Regions from separate parts of the Homo sapiens genome. Here region 1 is linked to region 2. The links are contacts of gene promoters, found by promoter capture Hi-C in human tissues and cell types (Jung and others, 2019). All regions are on one chromosome and are shown on one strand. The core of a region is centred on a gene start or on the middle of the fragment in contact, and the rest is flanking DNA. Distances in the headings are between cores, read along the strand shown.

Evidence for each region. The method cuts DNA at HindIII sites, captures the fragments that hold promoters and counts their contacts. A contact is called where the count stands out against the background at its distance.
Region 1: a contact is called between the fragment with the promoter of FHAD1 here and the fragment with the promoter of CTRC in region 2, in 1 of the 25 tissues and cell types used here (adrenal gland).

What each region holds. Positions count from the first base shown.
Region 1 is chr1:15,245,210-15,251,782 of GRCh38, reverse strand. It overlaps FHAD1 (forkhead associated phosphopeptide binding domain 1), which reads right to left and starts at 4,560. Exons shown (of 34, transcript NM_001391957.1): 1 at 4,388-4,560; 2 at 1-12. RefSeq lists silencers at 4,295-4,534, 4,552-4,725. The HindIII fragment of the contact is 8,594 bases long and covers 1-6,573 here.
Region 2 is chr1:15,436,591-15,443,752 of GRCh38, reverse strand. CTRC (chymotrypsin C) reads right to left here and starts at 5,310. Exons shown (of 8, transcript NM_007272.3): 1 at 5,249-5,310; 2 at 3,362-3,453; 3 at 3,163-3,260; 4 at 1,181-1,306; 5 at 198-334. The coding sequence starts at 5,288. The HindIII fragment of the contact is 5,601 bases long and covers 2,273-7,162 here.

The DNA.
Region 1 (6,573 bases), core at 3,311-5,810, 190 kb after region 2:
TCTCTGTTTTCCCTACATAAGGTTTTCAGAAAGAATTTTGTTAGAAAATGTAGTTCTCTAATTATTCAACAACATCATACTTAAAATGAATGAAATAACCACAGAGTCATGTCCAAAGTGAGAAATCAGAAGAGGGGGGATTAGATAGATCAGTCAACAATGACGACAAGGACAATTCTGCAGGTTTTTAAGACAATCTCTTCTAACCATGATATCTAGCATAGAAAAGCCTGGTTCTAATAATCAAACAGAGGGCATTTCTTAAGTAACTCAGGACACAAACAAAAGCTAAAACAACCTGACAACAAATCTGAGTTCCAGTGATGATTGCTCTCCACCTCCCATCAAGCTTAGTATAAGCTTAGTGATCTGACTTACCAAGTATTCAAGTTCTGTGTTCCTAACCCATCCTTTACTAGCTCTGTGACCTTGGGTGAGTTACTTATTCTCTCTCTGTGACTCAGTTTCCTCATCTATAAAATGGGTGGTTTTTTTTGTTTTTTTTTTTTGAGACAGGGTCTCACTTTGTCATCCAGGCTGCAGGGCAGTGAGCAATCTTGGCTCACTGAGGTCTCGATCTCCTGGGCTCAAGCAATCCTCCTGCCTCAGCCTCCCCAGTAGCTGGGATTACAGGTGTGCACCACCACACCTGGCTAAAGAGACGGGGTATTGCCATGTTGCCCAGGCTAGTCTCAAACTCTTGAGCTCAAGTAATCCTCCTGCCTTGGCCTCCCAAAGTGCTGGGATTACAGACAGGAGCCACCACACCCAGCCTAAAATGGGTTAAATGCAATAATATACGTGAGGTATCTAGAATGGTGCCTGGCACACACTGAACACTCATTTGTACTACTCTTATTAGTGTTGTTAACCTGGGCTTCTCAAACTCTGATCCAAGGAACCCTAAACTTCTATAGAGCTTATTTTATTCATTCATTCATATTTAGAGATGAGGTCTTGCTCTTTGCCCAGGCTGAGTTCAGTGGCACAATCATAGCTCGCTGCAGTCTTGAACTCTTGGGCTCAACTGATCCTCCTGCCTCAGCCTCCAGAGTAGCTAGGAATACAGGCACACCACCATGTCTGCTTTTGGAGTTTCTTAAAGAGTTATCATTGGAGAGGCAGGCATTAGATGATGTTTTTCTTTTTAAATCGCTGTATTTCTTCATTTATTTAGTTAGGGGAAAAAAGATTACTTCTAAAGGCAAAATATCAAGATTATAGCTCAGCCATGTAATCAGGACCCTGCACAGTATTCCCCCCAGCATTTTACTATAAAAATGTCAAACATACAGAGAGGCTGAAAGAAGCAGATAATGAGCTCCTATGTACCCACCACTAGATTCTACCATCGGCATTTTGCCATATTTGCTTTATCACAGATCTTTCCATCTATCCGTGTGTCCATCCATTTTATATTGTGGTGCATTTCGAAATAAGTTCTATACACATCTTTTAAGACAAACACTTCAGTGACTTCAGAAAGTTCTAAAATATTGACAGTAATTCATCTCGATGCTTGAATCCGATTTGAGATTACGTCTAAAGATGCAGTGTGATATCCTCCACCTCAATTCCTTGTCAAAGAACAACAACAGTCTCTCTCTTTTCCATTCAATTGAAAAGTCAGTGAAATGACAAATTATTGGACTATGGGTAAAAACAAAAATCAACTAGTTGTGGTGGTACGGACTCTCGGGGCTGGCTCTGCTTTTCATCATCATCTCTATCATCATTTATGGAGTCCTTAGTAAGTGCCAGGCACTTTTCCTTGAATATACTCTTTTCATCCTCAGAGAAACCCTGCAAGGTGGGTGTCATTATTGTCCCTACTTTACAGAAAAGGAGACTGAGATGCAGAGAGGTTAAGGTCCCCTAGCATTCGGGCAGGGAGATTGCCATTGCATGTCACCACTACATAATCCTCAGGCAGCTCAACTTTTCACACCTCCATCACTGCTGGGTGGGGAGGGGATGGGATGGGGGAGCAGAGAGAGTGACTGAGTGGGGGGAGGGAGAGGTTGTCACTTGGGATAGTGGGGTTGTCACTGTTTTGTTGACACTTAGGACATGAAATAACAGATAGCCCTTAACACCAGAATTCTATCCTCTGCAAAAAAAGAAAAGACCCTTGGGAGTAAGAGAAATAAAAACAAGCCAGATAGTTTATGTTTGTAAATTCCGAAGCCTATGAGAAATCCTCAGAAATATTAATACTTTCATATAATGAGAATTTTATTTTTAAGTCTGCTGTCTTTAATAGGGATAAAAAGACACTTCTTTTTCCAAAAGAACCATGCCCTGTTGCCCTCAAATTGCCTGAGTTATTAATCTTCAATTGCAGAGGACTACATCATCAAGCACCACATCCAAACTAAAGTAAAAGTAATCTAAAGTCAACTTTCGAGAAATGTCTCTTTTGTGGGAAAGCCACAGGAAATGCCTCCAGAGTAAAACCCCAAATCTGAATGACTGGCTTTTTTTTTTTTTTTAGCTCTTCCCCCCGATGTTTCCACAGCTGGTGCCTTGCGGTAGCTACCTGACCACCCCAGCTAAAGGCGTCACCAGTCACTTTGTTGTCTAGCTAGCATGTGTCACTGCTGTGGCTCCTTCCTTGAGCTTATCATTCTCTGTCATTTTCTTGTTCTTTACTTAGCTGTTTACTGTTTCCCTTTCACTGAGATACGTTCCAAGAGAGCCCAAACTGTGTTGTTTTTGTTAAACTCAATTCTCCATGGGTTTCCTGTGTTTGTACCCATCTTCAGAGCAAAGACACTGACAGATTTTGTTCCAGACAATCTTCCAAGGACATCTGTAGGGCAAATATCCTGAGAGGATAGGGATAGTGTCCCTATCCAGGGCAGAGTGCAGATTTATGATAAAAATGTCATCTCTGGCTGGGCACGGTGGCTCATGCCTGTAATCCTAGCACTTTGGGAGGCCCAGGTGGACGGATCACCTGAGGTCAGGAGTTTGAGACCAGCCTGGCCAACATGGCGAAACCCTGTCTCTACTAAAAACACAAAAAAATTAGCCGGGCATGGTGGCTTGCACCTGTAGTCCCAGCTAATCGGAAGTCTGAGGCAGGAGAATCACTTGAAACCGTGCAGCAGAGGTTGCAGTGAGCTGAGATTGTGCCACTGCACTCTATCTAGCTTGGGAGACAGAGCAAGACTCTGTCTCAATTAAAAAAAAAAAAAAAAGGTCATCTCCTTCCAGGGCAAAGGTTGGGCACTGGCTAGCAGCCCCTTTTAAAAGACTGGAGTTTCCTGAGCTTGGGGTTCCTTAGCTGGGAAACAGACTCGCAGTGTGCACAGCATCCACCTGAGCTGTCCTGCATCACCCCGGGGTACTTGCAGGGCAAGGGGAACCAACGCAAACATGAGCTCACAGTGCCTGCTGTGCTGTGAGTAATAACATCCTTTGTCTCTGGTCCTGGAGTCTCTGGTCTTCTGCTAGCATCATTAAGCAGTGGCAGGCTAACTTAGCTTGCAAGTAGTGTAAAAATCTCAGACCCTTTGCATTTCCTCACAGTCTGTTCATTACTCCCCTCTGGCCCCCAGCGCTGCCATGCCTGACACATAGTGGTGCTCAGTAAATCATGAATGAATGAAAGTACAAAACAATGCTTAAAAGTAAGTCAGGGTAGCCTAAGAACCTCTGACAGTAACTACCTTTCATTTTCCCCTTCAGTATTTATCCTAGATGACATTCTGGAAAAAAAAAAAAAAGTCTATTTCTTTAGCTGAATGGGTTGGGCCCTATTTCCCCACTTTAATCTTGCCCTGTGCAGTCACTTTCCTACCTGAAAACACTGTAGAAAGTGATTAGATGCGTTAAACTCTGTAAATTAGTTCTAAGACACAGGGCACCGACCATGCAAAAGAGCAAAAGAGCTTCAGGCATCTGCACTCCCTGCTTATAGGTCACAAGTGAGATAGAGAAGCAAAATTTCTGTTGAGGGGTTACCAGATCTTAAGTGGCCTGGGAGCCCTAGAAATTCCTCAGTGTTGTATTTGGGAAGGGAGAGGTTAGGCAAGGGGGGAGTCTCTCTGACCGCCGGGTGGGTGTCGTTCGTAAGTCAGGGGCAGCAGGGATGCCCCTCCTAATCCCAGCTGTAACCCCCAGGACTTCCCAGAGTGGCATGGCTGGTGCCAAGGAGGGTCTAAGGCTCCCGGGGGCTTCCTCCGCGGGCGGGGTGGGGCCTGCATCTGGAAAGGAGGGGCTGGTGTTGGGGTAGCTACTGGGGTGCTCCTGGGGACCGGAGCCTGGATCCAGGAGGATGGGGCCGGGGAGCCACCCCTCCTCCTGCCAGGGCTAGTCCTCGCTGGGCCGCCCCTTCCGGTCCCCGGTCTCGGCCCGCCACCCCTTCCCGCGCCGCACTCACCTGGCGGGAGGAGGAAGCCCACGCTCCGACCTCCGCCGAGAGCCCTGCCAGCTCGGGAGGCGTCGGGCCAGCTCCGGGGCGAAGCCTCCCGGCCGCGCTCCCGCGGAGTCTCCAGCTCGCACCCGGCACCCCGCCCGCCCGGCCGGCCTGTGTACGCGCGTTGCCATGGCAACGCCGCCAGGCGCCGCGGGGTCCAGCCTAATAGATGAGGGCGTGGCCTGCGCGGCAGAGGGGGCGTGGCACCGTGCAGGGAACGCCCACTGGGTTACCGCCTGCTGAATGCTCCAGGCCCCACGAGCCTGCCCCATTTCACAGATAGGAAAGCGGAGGCTCAGAGGTCACAGAAATGGCCCAAGGTTTTACAGCGAGGAAGGAGCAGGGAGGAGATTTGATTCAAGAATCCTTTCCATTACCCCTCACTGTAAGCTGGATGCGTTGAGGGAGGGTCGGGGGCGATAGGGAGAGGTAGGAGATTGATGGAGCTGAACTCATGAGACCCTTGGAGGTTAGTATGCCCCCTGCCCTACCCAAATCTCTAGTCCTTTCCGTTACAGGCCAGAAAATAGAAAGAGTAAGAAGAGGGGATCTCTGGGAGTGGGGTGGGGATTGGGAAAGGGATGGGGTGGAATGAAAAATTTTGAAAGAATGAGGATTTCTTCCATGTGCTGGGGAAAAAATATTTCCAAACTCACAATCCTGCTGCCTCTGCTCCTCCCTGTTAAGAGTGACATTTATTCATTCTTTTGCCCTTTCTCTATCTCTGCAAACATCTTTTGAGTCCTATGAGTGTCACACGCTGATCCCAGAATACACCTGGAACAGTTACTGTCCTTAAGAAACCGCTTGTCAGCCGGCACAGGACTCGCGGGATGGAGTGTGTTGAGCAGATGTGCAAATCCTATCTCCCGCCACTATCTCCAGCAGGAAATCCTATCTCCTGCTGACTCTACCTGGAGAGTGATTCCTTTCACTGGCAGGAAATGGCTGACCAGACACCTCAAGAAAAACTCTAAACGTTTTTCTAAGAGAGATGAACTATGGCACATTCTACCCTAGTGATACGGTTTGGCTGTGTGTCCCCACCCAAATTTCATCTCGAATTGCACTCCCCACGTGTTGGAAGAGGGGCCTGGTGGGAGGTGATTGAATCATGGGGGCAGACTTCCCGCTTGCTTTTCTCATGATAGCGAGTGAGTTCTCATGAGATCTGATGGTTTAAAAGTGTGGCACTTCCCCCTTTGCTCTCTCTCTCTCCTGCTACACCATGTTACAACATGCTAGCTTCCTTGCTTCCCCTTGGCCTTCCGCCATAACTGTAAGTTTCCTGAGGCCTCCCTAGCAGTGCAGAACTGTGAGTCAATTAAACTTCTTTTCTTTGTAAATTATTCAGTCTCAAGGAATTACTTTATAGCAGTGTGAGAACAGACTAATACACCTAGTCAATAGGAAGAGGATCTGAGAGAGAAATCATGGACATCGATTTGTGGTGGAATATACAGTGAAGATGCTCAAACGTGCCTGGAGGCTTTTAGAAATGCGGACTTCTGGGCACAGACCCCAGAGATTCTGATTTAGCAGGCCTGGGACATAATCCAGGAATGTGCATTTGCAACAAGCTTGACAAAACCCTGATTTATGCAGCTGAACTGCAGAGACCTCTCCCGGAGCCTGTCCCTACAAATCTCTTCCAGGCCCTCAGTCTGGAAGGTTCTGCCTGGATCAGTTTCCTACAACCAGAAAGATTCTAGGCGTAAAATGTTAGGAGGGACCACAAGGGCTGGGACCCAAGTGATGGCTTCACAGGAACAGAGAGGGTCAAGCTCAGCTTCCCACACGTTTCTGCCTCAGAGCCTTTGCTCTTGCCCATTCCTCTGCCTGGAATGCACTTCCCCTCAAGAGTCTCCTTTGCCTTCTTTACTTTAGCTTTTTACTCACATATCATCTTTTCTAAAATTGGTTTTTTGAAACAATGAAACAACCACCATGAAATCTAATAAACAACAAAAAAGAGCAAATAAAAACAATAAGAACAGCAAAAGCAAATAAAAATAAGAACAACAAAAGCAAATAAAAATAAGAACAACAAAAGCACATCCAAACAAAATAAAAACCTCAACACTCTATCCCTCTTCCCTTCTTTTTGCCACTTGCTATAGTTAGAATATTTGACCCCTCCAAATCTCATG
Region 2 (7,162 bases), core at 4,061-6,560:
ACTTTACCACATCTCTCAGAGACCCTTGCTAGAGTGTCTGTCACATGGTATGTGCTTAGTAAATATTAGCTGTTATTGTTACAAAGTTTACAAAGACATGAAAATGTGAAGGCAAAAAGGCAAAGTGGTGGACAAATGTGGGTGACGTCCTGCTTCCTTCAGGAAGGCTCTCAGGATTTGCCAGGGACGATACTCACTCCAGAGGCGGCCCCAGCCGGTGACATAGCAGGGGTAGTCCTTGGGGAGCAGGGAGTCCTTCTCTGGCAGGCAGGCCACCTGGATGGTGTCACTCAGCTCCACATGCTCTGCAAGCTTGATGAGGGCAATATCATTGCTGGAATCCAAAGTGGAGAGGGTGAGTGGGCAGGAGGGCCCTGGCCCCACAAGCTCAGGCTAAGGGGCTCGGGCTGTGAGTTGGGAGTCAGGCCCAGGGTGCTCAGGGGTCCTTCACAAACATCCTGACTGCCAGCTTCTTCTTGGCCTTTGGGAATATCAGGACAAACGATTCACCATCTAACATGATCACCCGCACTGTTGACATAGCTTCTTCTCACATGTCATCACCTCGGGAAAGGGTTAACAGAGGGAGGTGAGAGTGGAAGTGTCCGAAACCACTGCTGGCTGTGGGTCCATTGAAACAGAGGCTATAGCAAGTTGAGAACTCTAATGCCAAAAGACGGCACTTGCAGATGCCAGTTTTAATATTTTCATGTTACAAGAATAAAAGCTGGCCGGCCCAGTCAGACCTGGTTTGATTCCTAGTTCTGCCACGAAGTGGGCTGTGTGGCCTGGGACACAGTTCTTAACCTCTCTGAGCCTTGGTTCTTTGTCCAGGGCTGTTGTGAGGATTACATAACAGATGGCATATAAAGTGTCTATTGCAATGTGGGCATACAGTAGGAACTCAATAAAGGTGAGCGCTGGCCCAGCCTCTGGAGAGACACTGTGGGGGGCCTTCCTTGTGGACTTTCCTGGGAGTCTTGGCCAATGAGGGGGATATGAGGGGGTATTTGTCTCCACTTAGCATTTTGCCATTTTGTGTAAGACAGTCATTTGCTGGCTTTCCAGGGTGAGGATGGGGTGTCAGGTATGGGGTGCGACAGGCTCTGCGGCTCCGTCTTGGGGACCCCTCCTTCCACACTGCCCCCAGTGGCTGTGGGATGGGCAGTCTGTCACTCACCGCAACAGGAGGGCATTCCATCTCTTGTGGACGTGGATGGTGTCCACACCCACAAACAGGGATCCTTCTTCGTCTTCCACCTCCAGGTTGTTCTTTCCCACGGCCACACGGTAGGTCCGGGTGTTGCTGGGCAGAGGAAGGGGTCCAGGTCAGGGTGGCCCCCTGGTCCTGCCAGCCAGTGGGATAGAGAGGGAGCTCGGGGCTTTAGTGGGACTCATTTTGGGGGAAGAGAGTGTTCCCATTGTCCTTTCCCAGGGTGAGGGGAAGGGCCTGGGACTTGGGGTCAAGGGACTTGGGTTCATGTTGTGACTTTGCTGCTCCTGGCTGTGTAGCCTTGTGCCTCAGTTCCCTCATCTGTAAGGGGGAGGCAATGCTGGAACTTACTCCCAGGGCGGCTGTGAGAATAAACTCATCCAAGCTTCCACCGCCCTTGCCTGCACAGTTGCGGCATCCATCTAACTATCTCTCACTTGTACGCTGGCCTACTCCTGTCTATTCTGAACCCAGCAGTGTGGGTTTAAAAATATCTCCGGCCAGGTGCGTTGGCTCATGCCTGTAATCCCAGCACGTTGGGAAGCCGAGACGGGGGGATTGCTTGAGGCCAGGAGTTTGAGACCAGCCTGAGCCACATGGCAAATCCCCATCTCTACAAAAAATAGAAAACTTATGGTGAGGTTTGGGCTTCTAAGTTAAAAAACAAACAAACAAACAAAAAACAAGAAGAAAAATTAGCTGGGAATGCGTGGTGGCGTGTGCTTATAGACCCAGCTACTCGGGAGGCTAAGGTGGGAGGATTGCTTGAGCTCAGGAGGTCAAGGCTACAGTGAACCATGATGGTACCACTAAATGAGACTCTGTCTCTACCAAAAAAAAAAAAAGTGTATATGAAATATATAAAATGAAATATGTTGCAATATATATTTTTTATAAAATATATTAAAAATATTTTATGGAATATATAAAAATATGTCAGCCCACAACTCTCCTTTGCTCAGAAACCCTTCCAATAGCTCCATCTTACTCAGGGTCAAAGCCAAGGTCCTGATACTGACCTGCACTTATTTCCTCTCTAGCTCACCTCCCACTCTCCTCTAGCACACGCTGCCCCTGCCACACCGGCTTCCGCGTTATTTCTCAACCATACTGACAGGTCTCTCCTCCAAGGCTTTGCATGGCTGTTCCCTCCGCCTGGAACACCCTTCTCCTAGATCCATGATTTCCTCCCTCACTTCCTTCAGGCCTTTGCCCAAATAACCCCCTTTTAGCTCTCCGAAATGTCCCAAATATTTGCCAAATATCCCCCTTTCAGCTCTTCCCCTGGCCATCCCTTTTAAAACTGAACCCCTCATTCTGTTTGTCCTCTTCTGACCTTATTTTTATTTTTTATTTTTTTGAGACAGAGTCTCACTCTGTTGCCCAGGCTAGAGTGCAGTGGCGCCATCTCGGCTCATTGCAACCTCTGCCTCCCGTGTTCAAGTGATTCTCCTACCTCAGCCTCCCGAGTAGCTGGGATTACAGGTGCCCGCCACCACGCCTGGCTAATTTTTGTATTTTCGGTAGAGACGGGGTTTCACTATGTTGACCAGGCTGGTCTCGAACTCCTGACCTCAGGTGATCCGCCTGCGTCGGCCTCCCAGAGTGCTATGATTACAGGCGTGAGCCACTGCTCCTGGCCAATACCTTATTATTAGTATTATTTTAAATCACCTGAGATGCTATATATTTGTTTAATTGTCTGCCGCTCTGTCTTCCACAAAAATATAAGCTTCCCGAGAGCACAGACTTTGTCTTCACTGCTGGTTCCTGGCACATAATAGATGCACAATGAATACTTGACTGACTAAATGCACAACTGAGTTACTGGGTGTGAGTAGATTATGTAGCCCAGTGCCTGGAGTGCGGAGAAGCTGCTCAGAAAAAGCAGAGTATCAGGCTTCCGCCCCCGGACGATGGCCAGGTCTCAGGGTATCATCCCCGCACACCTGATGCAGTGGGCGGCAGTGAGGACGAAGTTGCTAGCAATCAAAGTCCCGCCACACGTATGCCTCCACGTGTCGTTCTTGAGGTACTGGAGGGAGATCTGCAGGAGGGTGGGGAGGGCTGTGTGTCAGCCTGCAGGTCCCTGGGACCCTCACCCCGCCACCCTCTCTATCTGTACCTCCCAGCCCTACACAGGCTTACCTGCCAGGGCCAGCTGTGGGGCCGGGCATCCTCTCCTCCCACCACTCGGGCGGATAGGTTGGGCGGGAAGCTGGGCACCCCACAGCTGGAGGCTGGGGAGACAGGAGGCCAGAAGAACCAGTGAATAGGGCTGGTAGCCCACGGGGAAAGGGGTGGGAGGGTGGGCAGGTGGAAGAAGCACAGAGTTGGGGCTGGGCAGACACGGGGTTGATATTTTACTGTGTCACGGGGGTAAGCCACCCAGGTCTCTAGGCCTTGTTTTCCCTTTCTGTGAAATGTGAAGAATCACACTAATGCGGTGAGTTTGCCCTGAGAACTGAATTAGACAACACATAAAAAAGAAAGCGTTTGGCCGGGCACGGTGGCTCACACCTGTAATCCCAGCACTTTGGGTGGCCAAGGCGGGTGGATCGCTTGAGATCAGGGGTTTGACACCAGCCTGGCCAACATGGCGAAACCCTGTCTCTACTAAAAATACAGAAATTAGCCAGGCGTGGTGGTGCATGCCTGTAATCCCAGCCACTCAGGAGGCTGAGGCAGGAGAATCGCTTGAGCCTGGGAGATGGAGGTTGCAGTGAGCCGAGATCGTGCCATTGCACTCCATCCTGGGTGATAAGAGCAAAACTCCATCTCAAAAAACAAAACAAAACAAAACAAAACTGGCTGGCATGTGTGCGAGTGCCCGGTACACCTGTGTTCTTCTGTCTGTTTTTAGGCCCCTGCATCATGGTGTGTGTGTGAGAGAGCAGTAAATCCACTGTTATAGCTGGGAAGCTGTGTGGAGCGGTCAAGAACACGTGCTGTTCCGCGAGACAGACGTGGACTCAAATTCTGCCTCTTCCACTAACCTGCCATGTGATGTCAGGCAAGATACTAAGTCGCACGGAACCTCGATGTCCTCATCTGTAAAATGGGGCTATGAAAAGACCCTACCTCTTTTTCTTTCTTTTTCTTTTTTTTTTTTTTTTGAGACGGAGTTTCACTCTTGTTGCCCAGGCTGGAGTTTGATGGCGCGATCTCGGCTCACTGCAACCTCCTCCTGGGTTCAAGCAATTCTCCTGCCTCAGCCTTCTGAGTAGTTGGGATTACAGGTGCCCGCCACCACGCCTGGCTAATTTTTGTATTTTTAGTAGAAACGGGGTTTCATCTTGTTGGCCAGACTGGTCTCAAACTCCTGATCTCAAGTGATCCACCCACCTCGGCCTCCCAAAGTGCTGGGATTACAGGCGTGAGCCACCATGCCTGGCAATAGACCCTACCTCTTAAGGTTGTTTTGAGGATTAAATTGGCTCCTACATGTAAGGGGCCTAGCATAGCGTCTGGCACATAGTAAACACACAGGAAACAGGAGCTGCTATTATTACTGTTGTTGTTGTTAGCTGGAAGGACTCTTCATTAAGTGCTCTCCTTTGCCAAAAAAGTTAGTGAGATTTAGAGAGGTGAAATGACTTTTCCAGGTCCTGCAGAGAAGAAGTGGCATTTAAGCTAAGTCCCTGGGCTCCTAATCTGGGAAAACGCCACCAAAATGATGGAATGGAGAATCCTCAAGGGAGAGAGAATGCTGGGAAAGGCAGACCCCGATGGTCCCTGGGGTGAACCCAGGATGAGGCATCTCGTGTCCCTCCCCCTTGCGTGGTGCTTTCCACACCTCATTTCTAACTGGGGACACGTCAGATCATCTTCCCTGTTTTGCAGATGTGGAAACAGAGTTGGCAGGCAGGCTGTGGCTTGTCTGACACACAGCTGGTTGGTAGCATCTGAACCCACAGGGGACCCCAAAGTGTCTTACCTGGAGAGCAGAGGCCCCCCCACTCCCCATCCCGTCCTTGCCCTGGAGGCCAGCCCGAGCTCACAGCCTGCTAGCTGCAGCCCCACCCCACCGCTTACCACAGGCCAAGAGCGCAGCGAGGACAGTGATGCCCAACATGGTTAGGTGCTCAGGACTGGCTGACCATCGGGATGGGCTGGGGCACACTTATAGGCAGGAGCAGGTGAGTGCACCTGGTCAAGGCCAAACCGCCCCTTGGAGAGAAACCTGCTCTGATAAGGCCCTTTCCCTGACCTTGGGTGGTTACTGTTTAATTTGGGCAGGAGACAGGGCTTTCTTAGAAGTATGGATTTTCCAAATATCCTGAAACAGAAAATTCTGAGTTGCAGTGCTTTTTGGCATCCCCCACCCCACTCTGTTTGACGTGTGTGTTCATTCTCTCTCCCTACCTTATACTATTTATTTATTTATTTGGAGATGGAGTCTTGCTCTGTTGCCCAGGCTGAAATGCAGTGGCACAGTCTCAGCTCACTGCAACCTCCACCTCCCGGGCTCAAACGATTCTCGTGCCTTAGCCCCCTGTGTAGCTGGGACTACAGGCGCCTGCCACCACGCCAGGTTAATCTTTTGTATTTTATTTATTTTTTTGAGACAGGATCTTGCTCTGTCACCCAGGCTGGAGTCTCAGCTCACTACAACCTCCGCCTCCCGAGTTCAAGCGATTCTCCTGTCTCAGCCTCCCAAGTAGCTGGGACTACAGATGTGTGCCACCATTTTTTTTTTTTTTTTTTTTTTGTATTTTAGTAGAGACAGGGTTTCACCCTGTTGCCTAGGGTGGTCTTGAACTCCTGAGCTTAGGCAATCTGCCTACCTCAGCCTCCCAAAGTGCTAGGATTACAGGTGTGATTACAGGCCGTTACCTTATTCTTTTTAGTTATTTATTGGGCACCTACTGTGTGTCAGGCATTGCGCTCAATTCTTCTTGCATTATCTCACTTAATTCTTCCAACAACATGAAATAGACGCGGTTATCTGCTCTGAGGTGAGATGAGAAAGGACCAGGCGCAGTGGTGCATGCCTGTAGTCCCAGCTACTCCTGAGGCCAAGGTAGGAGGATCGCTTGAGCCCAGGAGTTCGAGGCTGCAGTGAGCCGTGATCGTGCCACACTGCATTCCAGCGCGGGTGACAGAACAAGACCTTGTCTCTAAAAAAATAAAATAAAAGTGAGGAAGCTGAGACTCAGCGGGTAAGTGACCATCTAGGGTCACACGGCTGGGCAGCAGCAGAGCCAGACTTTGAAGCCAAAGCTTCTAACACCAGCCTGGGGCTTCAAGCTGTGGAGACATGCTGCTCCTTCTCTGCCTTTCTAGTGCTATTGGATCGCTTCCTGGCTCTCTCTCTGTCTCATCTTTCTAATTGCCTGGGCTTGATGCACTCCTGCACCTGCCTCCAGGGCTGTGGTTGGAGGCAGGGATGCAGCAGGCTCTGGAAGGTGCTTAGTTGGCCAGATTCCTTCCTGGAGTCAGCTTAGTTGTAGGTCCTCAGTTTCCCCATCTCTAAAATGGGCAAAAGGACCAGATGGACTTTCAGGCTCCTTTCAGTTCTACAATTCTGTAACTTGAATGTCAAGGTCAGTGGCAGATCTGAGGGCCCAAAGCACTGAGTAGCAGAAATTCTACCAGAGCCTCCGGCATTCGGGGTTGGCCATCCCTTGGAACATGTGGTTTGATCCATTCGCCCCAAGGCCTGGCCTCAGCCTGGTTGGTTAGATTCTGTCTTTCGTTTCCCCTCTACTCATACTGAGCTCCCCTTGAAGGTCATTTTCTGAGCTGGGCCTACTGGCCACCTTAGGAATTCCTTCCTGATAGAAAAGTTCAGAGCACTACGCACCCCGCCATTCATAGCGGTGATCTGGGGGTGAAGGAGGATTCTAACTTACACTTTTTTTTTTTGAGAGTCTTGCTCTGTGGCCCAGGCTGGAGTGCAGTGGTGCGATCTCAGCTCACTGCAACCTCCACCCCTGGGTTCAAGCA